4 separate regions of the Homo sapiens genome follow, and all the other regions are linked to region 4. Evidence: promoter capture Hi-C in 16 types of primary human blood cells and fetal thymus (Javierre and others, 2016). All regions are on one chromosome and are shown on one strand. The core of a region is centred on a gene start or on the middle of the fragment in contact, and the rest is flanking DNA. Distances in the headings are between cores, read along the strand shown. Region 1 holds the start of CTDSP1 (CTD small phosphatase 1). Region 2 overlaps STK36 (serine/threonine kinase 36). Region 3 holds the start of ZNF142 (zinc finger protein 142). Region 4 holds the start of ATG9A (autophagy related 9A).

The links. The method cuts DNA at HindIII sites, captures the fragments that hold promoters and counts their contacts. A CHiCAGO score of 5 or more calls a contact.
Region 1: the fragment with the promoter of CTDSP1 here is called in contact with the fragment with the promoter of ATG9A in region 4 in 7 of 17 cell types (total CD4 T cells, total CD8 T cells, non-activated CD4 T cells and 4 more); the score reaches 8.7 in total CD4 T cells.
Region 2: a contact is called between a fragment that was not itself captured here and the fragment with the promoter of ATG9A in region 4, in 2 of 17 cell types (total CD8 T cells and activated CD4 T cells). The highest score is 6.9, in total CD8 T cells.
Region 3: a contact is called between the fragment with the promoter of ZNF142 here and the fragment with the promoter of ATG9A in region 4, in 7 of 17 cell types (naive B cells, total B cells, naive CD4 T cells and 4 more). The highest score is 8.2, in naive B cells.

Annotation. Positions count from the first base shown.
Region 1 is chr2:218,398,336-218,401,380 of GRCh38, forward strand. It overlaps CTDSP1 (CTD small phosphatase 1), which reads left to right and starts at 1,533. Exons shown (of 7, transcript NM_021198.3): 1 at 1,533-1,822. The coding sequence starts at 1,756. RefSeq lists silencers at 181-450, 1,141-1,510, 1,581-1,660, 1,821-1,980. The HindIII fragment of the contact is 4,794 bases long and covers 1-3,045 here.
Region 2 is chr2:218,701,296-218,704,297 of GRCh38, forward strand. STK36 (serine/threonine kinase 36) reads left to right here. Exons shown (of 27, transcript NM_015690.5): 27 at 571-1,420. The coding sequence ends at 714. Among named protein-coding and RNA genes, the nearest start is that of TTLL4, 8.0 kb to the right of the region's middle. The HindIII fragment of the contact is 889 bases long and covers 871-1,759 here.
Region 3 is chr2:218,657,701-218,660,872 of GRCh38, forward strand. It overlaps ZNF142 (zinc finger protein 142), which reads right to left and starts at 1,923. Exons shown (of 11, transcript NM_001379659.1): 1 at 1,669-1,923; 2 at 1,280-1,430; 3 at 1,001-1,176. It overlaps BCS1L (BCS1 ubiquinol-cytochrome c reductase complex chaperone), which reads left to right and starts at 1,983. Exons shown (of 8, transcript NM_001079866.2): 1 at 1,983-2,043. RefSeq lists enhancers at 1,047-1,166, 1,977-2,106. The HindIII fragment of the contact is 10,571 bases long and covers 1,032-3,172 here.
Region 4 is chr2:219,228,259-219,231,241 of GRCh38, forward strand. It overlaps ATG9A (autophagy related 9A), which reads right to left and starts at 1,378. Exons shown (of 16, transcript NM_001077198.3): 1 at 1,277-1,378; 2 at 176-227. ANKZF1 (ankyrin repeat and zinc finger peptidyl tRNA hydrolase 1) reads left to right here and starts at 1,548. Exons shown (of 14, transcript NM_018089.3): 1 at 1,548-1,642; 2 at 1,970-2,147. The coding sequence starts at 2,000. RefSeq lists enhancers at 318-866, 867-1,414, 1,415-1,962, 1,633-1,742 and silencers at 1,093-1,142, 1,353-1,482. The HindIII fragment of the contact is 5,267 bases long and covers 1-2,983 here.

The DNA of each region.
Region 1 (3,045 bases), core at 283-2,782, 830 kb before region 4:
AATGAGATTAGGGGGCGCAGCCAGAGCAGGCCTAGGAAAACGCCAGCAGCGTGTGGCGATCACGGTGATGAAGCGCAATGGTGGCCGCCCCGTGGGCTACCCAGGAGCAGGAGGAGGGCCGAGGGATCCAGCCCGGGGACCGGGGTATCAGTCCCCGACAGTCCCCTCCCGCCCCTACTCCCAGCCTCAGCGCACGAAGCCGCCGCGCCTTCTGGCAGACGCCGCTCCCCTCCCTTCCCCTCCCGGCCCCCGCGCGGGGCCTCCCCTCCCCGGCTCCCCCTCGGCAGGGCCTGGCGGACGTGCGCCGCGTCGCACCCGGCGGCCGGACGGGACAGGACGCGCCCGCCCCGCCCCGCCACGGAGGCCCGCGGGAGAGGGGGAGGGGAGGAAGTGCCGAGGGGTGTTTGTCGGGCTTGGCATTATTAATTTTTAAATGGTGAACTTACAAAATAGTAACGACGAGTGAAAAGAACTTCATAAACGAGGAAAAAGACCAACCCGCAGACCCACGGCGCGCACCACGGAGGGGCTTGCAGCGAGAAGACAGGGACCTCCGTTCCCAAGTGCCCAGCACTGCGCCACAGGCCGGGTGGAACGGGCCTTGAGGGCCTCTGGTTTGAGGTCCCCCACGGTCGGGCTTTGGGCCCACCGCGTGCGGCGCCGTGCTGGGCTCCTAGGATCGGCAGCGAGTCCAGTGACTCCCACCGCACCCCCAGTAATCACAGGGCGGCCGTCGACCGCGGGCAGGGGAGGGGGTCTGGGAAGGCCCCTGGAGAAGGTGGCATTTCCTCGAGGTCGGTGGAATTTGGCTACGCGAAAGGAACAGCGCGTACGAAAACTTCAGGCGGGAACGCGCGGTGGCCCGTGCGCGGCGGGTAGACGTGCGGGGCCCCGGGTGGGGCCGTGGGGAGAGGTCGGCAGGGGGCTTTCCCAGGGCAGAGAGTTAGAATTTCACGTCCTACAGACCGGGGGCACCTCGCCCTGGGGCTGCGGGGGGCGGCGACCGTCCCATTCAAGAGCGTGATTCTGAGGTTTGCACAGCTGTTTCGGGCCAGCAGAGCCTTCGCTGGCTCTTGACGTCCTTGCGAGGTGATCTCTGCGACCACCAGACAGGAGAGAAGACCCATTTTACAGATGAGGTAGTGCTATCTCCAAGTCCTCAACGAGGAAACCGAGAAGCCTCTAGTCCCGGGTCTTCAGAAAACGCAGAGGTGGAGCCGCGCCGCACTCGGGCACTCCCCGGCGTGGGCGCTCCCGGCGGGCGGGCCTTGGCCGAGGGCGCTCGGCGGCCTGGAACGGTGAGCCGGGTGCCGGGCCTGCCACGCAGCCGCAGAGACTCAGCCCCGCCGGCGGGCGGCAGGAAGGGAGGCGACGCCCCCTGGAGCGCGGCAGGAACCCGGCCCGGCCCGCCTCCCAGTCCGCCTAGCCGCGCCGGTCCCAGAAGTGGCGAAAGCCGCAGCCGAGTCCAGGTCACGCCGAAGCCGTTGCCCTTTTAAGGGGGAGCCTTGAAACGGCGCCTGGGTTCCATGTTTGCATCCGCCTCGCGGGAAGGAAACTCCATGTTGTAACAAAGTTTCCTCCGCGCCCCCTCCCTCCCCCTCCCCCCTAGAACCTGGCTCCCCTCCCCTCCGGAGCTCGCGGGGATCCCTCCCTCCCACCCCTCCCCTCCCCCCCGCGCCCCGATTCCGGCCCCAGCCGGGGGGGAGGCCGGGCGCCCGGGCCAGAGTCCGGCCGGAGCGGAGCGCGCCCGGCCCCATGGACAGCTCGGCCGTCATTACTCAGATCAGCAAGGAGGAGGCTCGGGGCCCGCTGCGGGGCAAAGGTACCGGGGCTGCGGGGAGGGGGCCGAAGCCGGGGCGCCGTGGGAGGAGAGAAGGGGCCGGGATCTTCCCCAGGGGAGCCGCCGCCGCCGCCCCGGGCGGCCGCCTTAGCTGTGCCCGAAGCTCCCAGCCCGAGAGGGAGCAGGGAGAGAGTTTGAACTCAGAGGAGGCTCAGAGACGCGGGGCGGGGCCTGGCGCCTTTGGGGCGCTCCTGTTCGCTCGAGGTGAGGAAACTGAGGCAGGAATAGAGAGGGAACTCTTCGGGGGTTTCCTGGCAGGCATTGCGTGGTGCATGGGCGCCCCCCCACCATTGGCGCCAATGGGGCTGGGAGATGGGGGAGCTGAGGAGGGCGCCTATGGGCCACCCGCTGAGACTCCGCCCCACCCCCCACCCCCACCCCCCCGGGCTGCGGTCCGGTAGGGTCTTGGGAGGGGGCGCCGAGGTGACAGCAGGCTGGGGAGGCTTGGAGGGATCTCCCGCCAACACACAGCTACGTTCCCCACAAACTTCGCGTCACGCGTGGAGGCGCCGACCCCCTCGGAGGCACAGAGAGGACGGCCGGCACTTCCAAGAGTCGCTTGGCGCCCGCGGGGAGAGTCGTGCGCCTAGTGGGCACGCACCACCCCGCAAAGCCTCGCCGCCCCGACGAGGCTGCGTCCCCCAGCGTGGCTGGGCCGGGGTGGGGGGGTCTGTCTTCTCCTTTTCCCCGTGTGGACCTCAGGATCTGGACGCTGCCCCCAGGTCTGCCCACCCTCGCCTGGGTCTGGCTGCCCCGGAACTGAGGGCAAGGTGGAAAGGCTAGTTGCAGGGGGCCGGAGGGGGGTGGGGTGGGAGGGGTATCTGTCAATCAGGCTGCTGGGCTCCAGGTCGGAGGTCTGGGCGGGGCAGGGCAAACAGATGGCCACTGGACACTGGCCCCAGGCCGCGGGACTGCACCCCTGCCTCTGGGCCCAGCCGCAGTGAGGACTTCGTACCCACGGGGGTGGAGAGGATGGAGGGAGGGCAGGGGTGGACTGCCCTGGGTCCCAGGCCCTGGCTGTCCTGAGCAGGGGTGCTCAGGTAAGGTGGGGTCAGGAGGCACCGCAATGGGGCTGATCAGCAGCAGTCATGGAGGCTGTGAGAGGCAGGGAGAGAGCACCCCAGGACCTCCTTCTCCAGGCCACGCACTCCCTATGTGGGCGCCTTAATACCTGCTAGACCTATTTGTCTGGGAGCTGCAGGAGC
Region 2 (3,002 bases), core at 65-2,564, 530 kb before region 4:
TAATTTTTTGTATTTTTTTTTTTTTTAGTAGAGACGGGGTTTCACCGTGATAGCCAGGATGGTCTCGATGTCCTGACCTCGTGACCCGCCCGCCTTGGCCTCCCAAAGTACGGGATTACAGGCATGAGCCACCTTGCCTGGCCGATGGTGAAGATCCTATAGGAATCTTGTGCAATCCATGGGGAAAATAATTAATGGGATTCTTGGTGGTAATGAGGTTAGAACTCACTGGTCTGCATTGAAGGCTAGGAATTAGACCTTTTGGCTTACTGTGAGTTACTGCTGCATTCATCAAGTCTTCCTGGGGACAAGTATATGTGTCCCTTAGTGCCTTGGTTTCATGGTCTATAACCAAAGAGAATGGAAGTAGACTTCTGGTCCTGATGATTCCTATCTCCAAGGTTTCTCTTCTGCCATTCAGTCTATTCCAAGTCCCCAAGAGCCCATTTCCTTTTTCTTCCTCTTCTCGAGTGGGAATTCCTGGGTAAATGAGAGTCCTCCGCACCTGCCCCAGACACCACCATTTCTGAGCCTCATGTTCTGTTCTATCATCTGTTCTCTATCCTACAGGTACTGGTGTCCCTGGGTGCCAGTGAGAAACTATCCTTGCTCTCTCTGGGGAATCAGTCACTGCCACACAGCAGTCCTAGGCCTGCCTCTGCCAAACACTGCAGGAAACTCATTCACCTCCTGAGGCCAGCCCATAGCATGTGATTCCAGATTCCTGCGGTCCAGCCTCCAACTTTGGTTGCCAGCTCTTTCTTATTCTACTACACAAGCCGCCAACTCAACTGAGAGCTAAAGAGACTAGAAAAGAGATAAGCTGCCAACTCAACTGAGAACAAGAAACTAGAAGAGATTTATATATAAAGCTTCTTCCTTCTCCCAGATGCAGGATGTTTTCAACCAGTAAATTTTATTGCTGTTGGTGCCAGAGAAGAGTCCTTTCTTCTCTACATCCAGGGGCCTTTTCTCCAATAATGTGCCTTTAACTCTAGGGACCTGCCTCACGGACCTTAGGGAAAAACCTCAACCTGAAAGATCTCTTCCTTTCTGGAGCTCCTTTAATCTTCCCAGCAGGTTTTTGCCTTAGACGTGCTGGCCCCAGGACAGTGATGAAGACAGAGCCTGTCTCAGCTCTAGGCTGTGGGGATCAATGCCATCAGTCCCTGTTATTGAGGGATTATCCCTTAGCCAACATTCCTATCTGTGGGTGGGCGTGGAGAGTGTATCTTTTTTTGGGGTGTGTGTGTATATGTGTGTGTGTATGTGTGTGTGTGTTTAATAGTTCTGTTTGTAAACTCTTTTAATAAAAGTTGTGCCTCACCATACTTGAAGCTCCCAGGACAAGGGTTGAGAGGCTCAACCCCTCTTTCAGCTTCTATGTGGTGTTGGAGGTGCTGGTATCGTGTTCACACAAGATCCTGGTCTGGCAGCTTATTTATATCATTTCTTGCCTTTACCAATTTCCCCCTTCCTAGATGAACTATATTTGGTTACCTACTTTCAAGTCAAGGCCGGTGGAGCTGAAATAGGAAAGGGTAAGATTCAACAGAGCGGTCAATTAGGTTGCTCAGACTTAGTGACTAATTTTAATATTTAGTGGAGTTCTAATGTGTAGGGACTCCAAGCTGCTGTAGAAGGATAGCTATTTTAAAGATTGTACAATTTACCAGAAAGGGCTTTTAGTCAGACCTGTTAGAATTATAATCTAACTGGAAGCATTGGAAAACCTTAACTCATTGGATGGCTTAGAACAAGCTTCCAGGGCCTTGATTTCTCCATCCATAAAATGAGGAGACTCCTTTCTGTCCTTCCTTAAATTCCAGTTGTTTTAGAAATGAAAGACAAGTAAAGTGCCCTTATTTTTATAAGAAATTTTGTTTAACCCTCATCTTCATTGTCCACAGTGTTTATACTTTAGCAAAAATAATATTTTTCTAGGGAGCACCATAATTTTCTTCTATCCAGATTATCTCAATTCAGTTCAATGTATATTTTTTGAGTCCTTTCTGTATGCCAGATACTATTCTAGGTACAGGAGATAAAACAGTGCCCATCATAGAGTTTCCATTCTGGTCGGGGAGATAGTGAAATTATTAAAAGAATAGTATGTAGGAAGGTGGTAAAAGCTATGGAGAAAAAGAAACCAGGGAAAGGAGATGAGGAGTGCTGAGTCGGATGGTCAGGGTAGGCCTCACTAGAAGGTGACACTTGAGAAAAGACTCGAAGGAGGCGAGGGAGTGAGTTGTGCACCTATTTTGGGGAAAAGCCAAGGCCCTGAGATGAAAGCATGCCTGGCATGCTTGAGGAGCTATGAGGAACCAGTATGGATTAAGTGAGTAAAGAAGGTGGAGAATAGTAGGAAATGAGACAGGAAGGTAATGGTGGGGGCCAGATATTGTAGGCTTTGTAGACCTTGGTGAAGACTTGGGCTCTTACTTTGAATGAAGGAGGCATCTATTGCAGGCTTTTGAACAGAGAATTTTATGAACTACCTTGCATCCTAAACGGATCATTCTTCATTCTGGTCTTGTGAATGGCTATGGGGAGTAGGGGAGAATGCGAAGTAGGATAAGCAGTTAGGAGGCTATTGTTATAATAATCCAGGCAAGAGACAATGGTGTCCTGGATGGCGACTGGGGTGATACCTATGGAGTGATAAAAAAGTAGTCAAATTTTGAATATATTTTGAACATGGAACAAACAGGATTTCTTGACTGATTGGAGGTGAGGGTATGACCAAAAGAAAGCAGTCAGGGATGACTCCAAGGTTTTTGGTCTGAGCAATTGGAAGAATGGAATTGTCATTCACTAAAATGGGGAAGGCTAGCAGTGGAGTGATAATGGGTGGGAATGAGTTCAATTGTGAACATCTTGTCTTTCAGTTGGAAATGTTTGAACACACACAGAGGTAGAGGATAGTTCAGTGTACTCCATCACTACTTGAGCAGCTACCATATCTATTTTGTTATTCTGGTGTTTGTTTGTTTTTGAGACAG
Region 3 (3,172 bases), core at 673-3,172, 570 kb before region 4:
ATTACAGGCGTGAGGCACCGCGCCGGGCCTGGCTTCCCGAAACTCTTATCTTCTCTCTTCTGGCGTCCTAAGGGCACTCTGTACACAGCCCTATCAGAAACGAGGTCACACTGCACTGTTGTTTACCTGTCAGTCTCTCTCCCTAGATGTATAGCTTTTTTAGTAATTTGTTGACATTATCACTTCAATGATATTACTTTGTGATACTGACATTATCACTTCAACGAACACAAATCACCCACAATCGAAGATTCCAGTGAAGAACCACAGATATGGAGCTGCATTGGAGTAAAGCTAGGTATCTTGTACAAAACCAGTGGTTCCTCACCTATAACGTAACACATTTGGAGAAATTTCAAACTCATTAACTGACTATGGCCTCAAACTAAATATGGGAACATAACTGAGGAATGAATGACAATTGAATTGCATACCCTGTTATACATGGCTAAAATGAGTTTAAGCTGAATAATTAGTAATTAATAAGAATGATGGGAATCACTTCATGAAATTGAGTCACAGACAAGATGCAAAAAGAAAAAAAGAAGAAGAAACCAGGCCGGGCGCGGTGGCTCAGGCCTGTAATCCCAGCACTTTGGGAGGCCAAGGCGGGCCGATCACCTGAGGTCAGAAGTTCGAGACCAGCCTGGCGAACATTGTGAAACCCTGTTTCTACTAAAAATACAAAAAATCAGCAGGGTGTGGTGGCACACGCCTGTAATCCCAGCTACTCGGGAGGCTGAGGCAGGAGAATCGCTGGAACCCGGGAGGCGGAGGTTGCAGTGAGCCGAGATCGCACCATTGCACCCCAGCTTGGGCAACAAGAGCGAAACTCCGTCTCAAAAAAAAAACAAACAAAAACCAAGATCCTGCAATCTGATAGTCCCTATTTCCAGAATCCCATGGACTCAAAACAACAGATCACAGGGATTCACAAGGTGGCTGGAAAGTGCACTCCCGTGGTCAGAGGGATTCTCTGGAAACTGCAGCCTCCACTTACTGAATATTATCGCTGTTCTGGGGAATCTTCAAGCTTGACCATACATGGCCTCCGGGGGGAGCCAAGGAGGACGCTGAGCCGTCAAGATTAAGAACCTTCACCTGCGGGAGGGCAGGGTGAGGTAGGAGACAGGTGGGCACCAGAGAAGAAATACGCTTATCTTCCGGGCAGGAGGGCTGAGGAAGAGAAAGGACAGACTAAGGCAGAGAGAAGGCCTGGAGAAACAACGGGCCCCGGCCTAGCGACCCAGGTTCCCACCTGCCTCTGGCTCTGACTCACCGCGTGGTCTTGGACAGACACAGTCGCTTCGCTTCTCTGGGCCTCAGCTTTCCTATCTGTAAAATGGAGGTGATGACAGTGTCCACATCGTCGGGCAGGAGCTGGATCATAAGAGCCAGCGAACTGGAAAGGCGGTTTGTAACCTGGAAGGCTTGGGATGGAGCATCGTCATGATTTTGTCCTGAGAGCAGCAGGTACCCGGGCGGGGTCCAGAACCGTGACGCGACTGCAGCGCCGGGGCCCAGCTCGTCTGGGTGCTCCCTTCAGTACCTCCTTCCGAGAGTTCCCAGCGCCCAGGCCCACCCTGATCCCGGGGCTCGAAAAACTTTGCCTCCAGCTCGCTCCACCCGCATTCCCTTCCCAGTTCCGCCCCGCAGCCGCTCACTCACCTCCAGACCCAGAGCCGGCGGGAGCCGCATCTCTATGGTCGGCCGCGGCTGGAACGGCCCCCGGGGCCCGCTTTGTGCGACCGCCTCCGGCTCAGCCGCCTCTAGGATATTGGGGATGTGGAAGCCACTCTCTCTTCCTCTTGCCGGCTGCCGGGGTACTCTATGTTTTGTCTCTGTGGTTTTTCCCGCCCTCCACCCCCACTCCAGCCCTGAAGCCGGAGAAGCACCATCGAGAGCTCTGGGGTAGAGTGGCGTGGGCTTCTCTGTGGGTGTGGCGGGAAGTAGATGAAAGGACCCGGGGCGGGGCCGAACGCAGCTTCCCCAAGGTGCAGGCGCGGTGAAACCATCGAGACGGAGGGCCAGAGAGTCACGGCGGTGAGAGGGCTGAGTGACGGGTTACCCCAAACCATGTGGCTGGAGGCGCGAGCTGGGGTGTGGGCGAGGTTCAGGAGGGGGTTCCTGGGTGTCGCGGAGGGGCCGGGGACGGGAGAGCTTTGTCTGTGGCCTTCCATGCATAGGTGTTTTGGAATTCTGGATCCCAGTTCTGAGGCTCAGCCGAGGTCACTGCTGTCAGCTCACCTCCCTGCATGCCAGGCGCAGGGCAAAGTGGCCGGGGTTCGGGGTTGGAGGAGAGGTGTACTAGAAACAACTTTGCTCTTGTCCCTCAGGATCTTATTGTCTACGATGTGACGATCCGTGGAGAAAGTAGCAGATGGGCAGATTTTCATTTGGGGAGAATGAGGGAGAAAAGAACGGGCATTCCGAGCCAAGAGCACTGCATGAGCAAGGAGTTGGGAGGTTGCTTACTTGTTGAACATATTTGTTGCGTATTTGCATATTTGCTAAACAGGTAGTGTTAGGAGCTAATCCATGAAAGGTAGGTGGGCGCCGTATTGTAGAGAGCCTTGAGTACCAGGCTGAGTTTATACCCAATTCAGGGGTCTGCTGGGAGCCAGCCATTGAAGGTGCTGGAGCAGAGAGAGATATGGTATTGGAGCTGATCCCTATGATGAAAGATCTGGACCCTTGTGTAGATGTTCCGTGAAGCAGGAGGTGAAGACCTATTAAAATGCCATTTCAAGAACTACGATTTTAAAGACAGTTTAGGTGGGAGGTAATAAAGGTCTAAACAAGACGTTAAATATTGGGGACGTAAGGGGGAGGATATTTGAAGGACATTACTCATAACAAGACATAGGGTTACTGACAAGTCAACGGACGCTTCTCCCTTGCTGACTGCAGCCAATGGACCCCTTTTTATCATAGCTGGTCCCAGGGACCACAAAAATCCTGTCCATCCATTACCCTGATGTGAAGCCTGTTTATATAGCTCTTTTTGGTTTAAGGCATCTCCAGACATGGTCCTCTGGTAGGAAACAGGTATGAGTAGACTAATGAAGGACAAAATGGGATGAGGGACCTGGAGCCTCCACCCTTGCATTCCAATACCACCCTTACCCCACAAAAGGAGGGTATTGACCCACACAGTAATGCTGACCTGTGG
Region 4 (2,983 bases), core at 128-2,627:
GCTGCTTTCCTGGCCCAAAGCCAGAATCTGTCCCTTTGTTGGGGGCTGTTTCATCTTCTATTTAACGGACAGAAGAGTCCCTCCCCCGCCCATCCTGGGAACCCTGGTCTCCCAAGAGACTAACAGTTTGGAAGCACTTCACAAACAAATGTTTGAGAAAAGCACATGGCCCTACCAGCTCCATGGACAGTATGTGCTCCTCTCCAGCCCTCGATGCTCTGCAGCTGCTGGAGGAGAAGATGTCAGGCCCCAGAGAGTGGGCAGTGGGGATAAAAAGGAACCCAACCCTCCCAGCCATCCACACCCCACCAAGAGGAGGCCAAGCATGGGGCAGGAAGGCTGCAGTGGGGAAGAAGCACCCTTCCAGCCCAGGACTACGAGCACTTCCTCTGGCTGTGCTAAACCGGGCCACTCTTCCAACTCCAGGGTCTCAAGAAGTAACTTAGGGACCCCATGGAGAATGAGTGGGTACAGACCTGAGGCCAGGGGCGCCTCTGGACTATTTCTCCATTGCCCTACCTTAGCCTCAGAAATGACATACTTCTCAGGGTCCACAAAACCTCAAGAGTCTTTCCTGAAGAGGACCTTTCTGGTCAACCCCTTCTCTTACTTCCCTAGCACCAAAGATCCAGCCGGTGAGCAAACCTTCTGGATGGGAAACCTTGACTGGGTCAGTGTAGACCCCCGATCCTAGGTGAATTTGTGGGTTCCCTAGGTCCTGTAAGCCAGGCATGGTCGAGGTGGTACTCACCTGTCCGTGCAGCCCCTGGGGGCCGTGGATCTTGGCCCAGCCTGGCCCCGGTGGGATTCCCTGGGCTAGTGAGAGCCCTGCCCCTCAGGGAAGTCACCACTCACAGGGTCAGTGTGGACCAGGGCCCGTGGAGCCCCGGCCGGCTGGGCCTGGGCTCAGGGGTTCCTGCGGATGTTGCAGGGATCGAGTCAGCCTTACAGCTGATAGCCCGGGTGGGTTGGCTTGCCTCCCCACACCCAGCCGCGGCGACCGTGGACCGGAGTCCACCTCGCCCCAGGGTCGCCCGGCCCCAGGCCAAGGGCTGGCAGCTCCCAACAGCGGACAACCTCGCGCGCGGCCCCGGCGCCCGCGCGCGCCCCCGTCTGCGCGCGCCAGCAATCAAAACATTCCGGCTGCGCGCCCCCGCCCCGCCGGCGGCGCCCCTTCCTCCGTTACCCGCCGCGAGCTCACTTAGGGCTCCGCAGGCACCCCTGGGCAAGGCCAGACACGGGGCCTGGGATTCCAATAACCGGTCTCACGTCTTACCTCAGGAACAGCGACCCGGGTGATTCCAGAGGCTCCGCCGGCTCCGCTCGGCTCGGCTCGGCTCGGCGCGACCCGCGGCGCTAGGCCGGGTGTCTGCCACTCACTGTCACCCGCAGCCAGGCTGGCCAATAAGCACGGGGGGCGGAGACACAACGGCCAATTCTCGGCTTCAGGGACGGGACTAAAGTCTCGAGGCGGGTCTTGGACAGTCAGCGGCCCAATAGTGTGCTCTACGTGGGGCGGGGCTCAGGTGCGGACGCCGCCGGTTGTCCTCTTCGCTGCTCCGTAGTGACGGGGATTGTTGTGTTGCAGAAATCCGGCAATCGACCTGAGGACTTGCGAGCCGCTCAGCTCCCGGGACGTTTGGTGCGTCTTCTAAGGGCGTGGGCGAGTTTACGCGGGCCAGTTGTTGCTGGTCGCATGGGTAACGAAGAAAGTTCGGCTAGGCAAGCTCAGTGATTTTTAACTCTGTTGGACTCGATTTGGGAGCCGAATGCCTATTTCATTCTTTTGTGGGCTGAGACTGGGGGTTTGAGAAAGTGGACGGGGGCCAAGGTATTCATCTCACAGTTGGTAGCAGGATGAGAGACGAGAAGTCTTGCGGTGCAGGAGAAACCAAGTCAGGCAGGCAGGAGACGCAGCAGTAGGATCTCGTTTGCAGGAGCCCTGTTTCTTACACGCTTTCTACTCCAGGAGCTGCTGCTAAATAATTTCTGCTCAGCCATGTCGCCGGCTCCAGATGCAGCCCCGGCTCCTGCGTCGATCTCCCTGTTTGACCTCAGCGCGGATGCTCCGGTCTTTCAGGGCCTGAGCCTGGTGAGCCACGCGCCTGGGGAGGCTCTGGCCCGGGCTCCGCGTACTTCCTGTTCAGGTATCCTGGAAGGTTTCGTGTGAAACGTGACAGGGCTCCTTACAGCGTATTGCCCGTTCAGGGAACACATTCTTATTGGTATTCCCGAGCTTAGGAGGCCAATTGATTTATCTTTCTGCTTGATTAAATTCACTTAATCTCTGGGTAATGTCCAGCACAGCCCTTGTTTTCAAACAAGTCTTTTTGCCATTGCATGTATCTCCTCACGTTAACACCATTCCCTTCAAAAACACTTTAAACTTTGTAGAGATAAAATTCTCAGATGTATTCCACATTTAACCAGGCCCCACTCAAATTATTCCTTTTTGCTGAATATGAAACAATTTATTATTTGTTTCGTATAGCTTTATTTTTTGAGAGTCTCGCTCTGTCGCCCAGGCTAAAGTGCAGTGGCACGATCTCCACCCACTGCAATCTCCGTCTCCCGGGTTCAAGTGATTCTCCTGCCTCAGCCTCCCGAGTAGCTGGGACTACAGGCCCGCACCACCATGCCCGGCTAATTATTGTATTTTTAGTAGAGACGGGGTTTCACCATGTTGGCCAGGCTGGTCTCAAACTCCTGGCCTCAAGTGATCCGCCTGGGTCAGCCTCCCAAAGTGCTGAGATTACAGGCATGAGCCACCGTGTCGGTCCTGTTTTGTGTAACTTTAGTTTGGCTACATCTTTTCTTGCACCTCTCCTTAGACAAACTGTACACTAATTGGAAATGTAAACTTTAAAAAGCATTTGGGAAGTAGTTTTTGTGCAGTGAAAAATAATTTTAAACTGAACAGAAATTATTTTCTTTAGGATTCACCTAAACAATCTGTTTGGCTAATTTAAATTAGACAAGACTC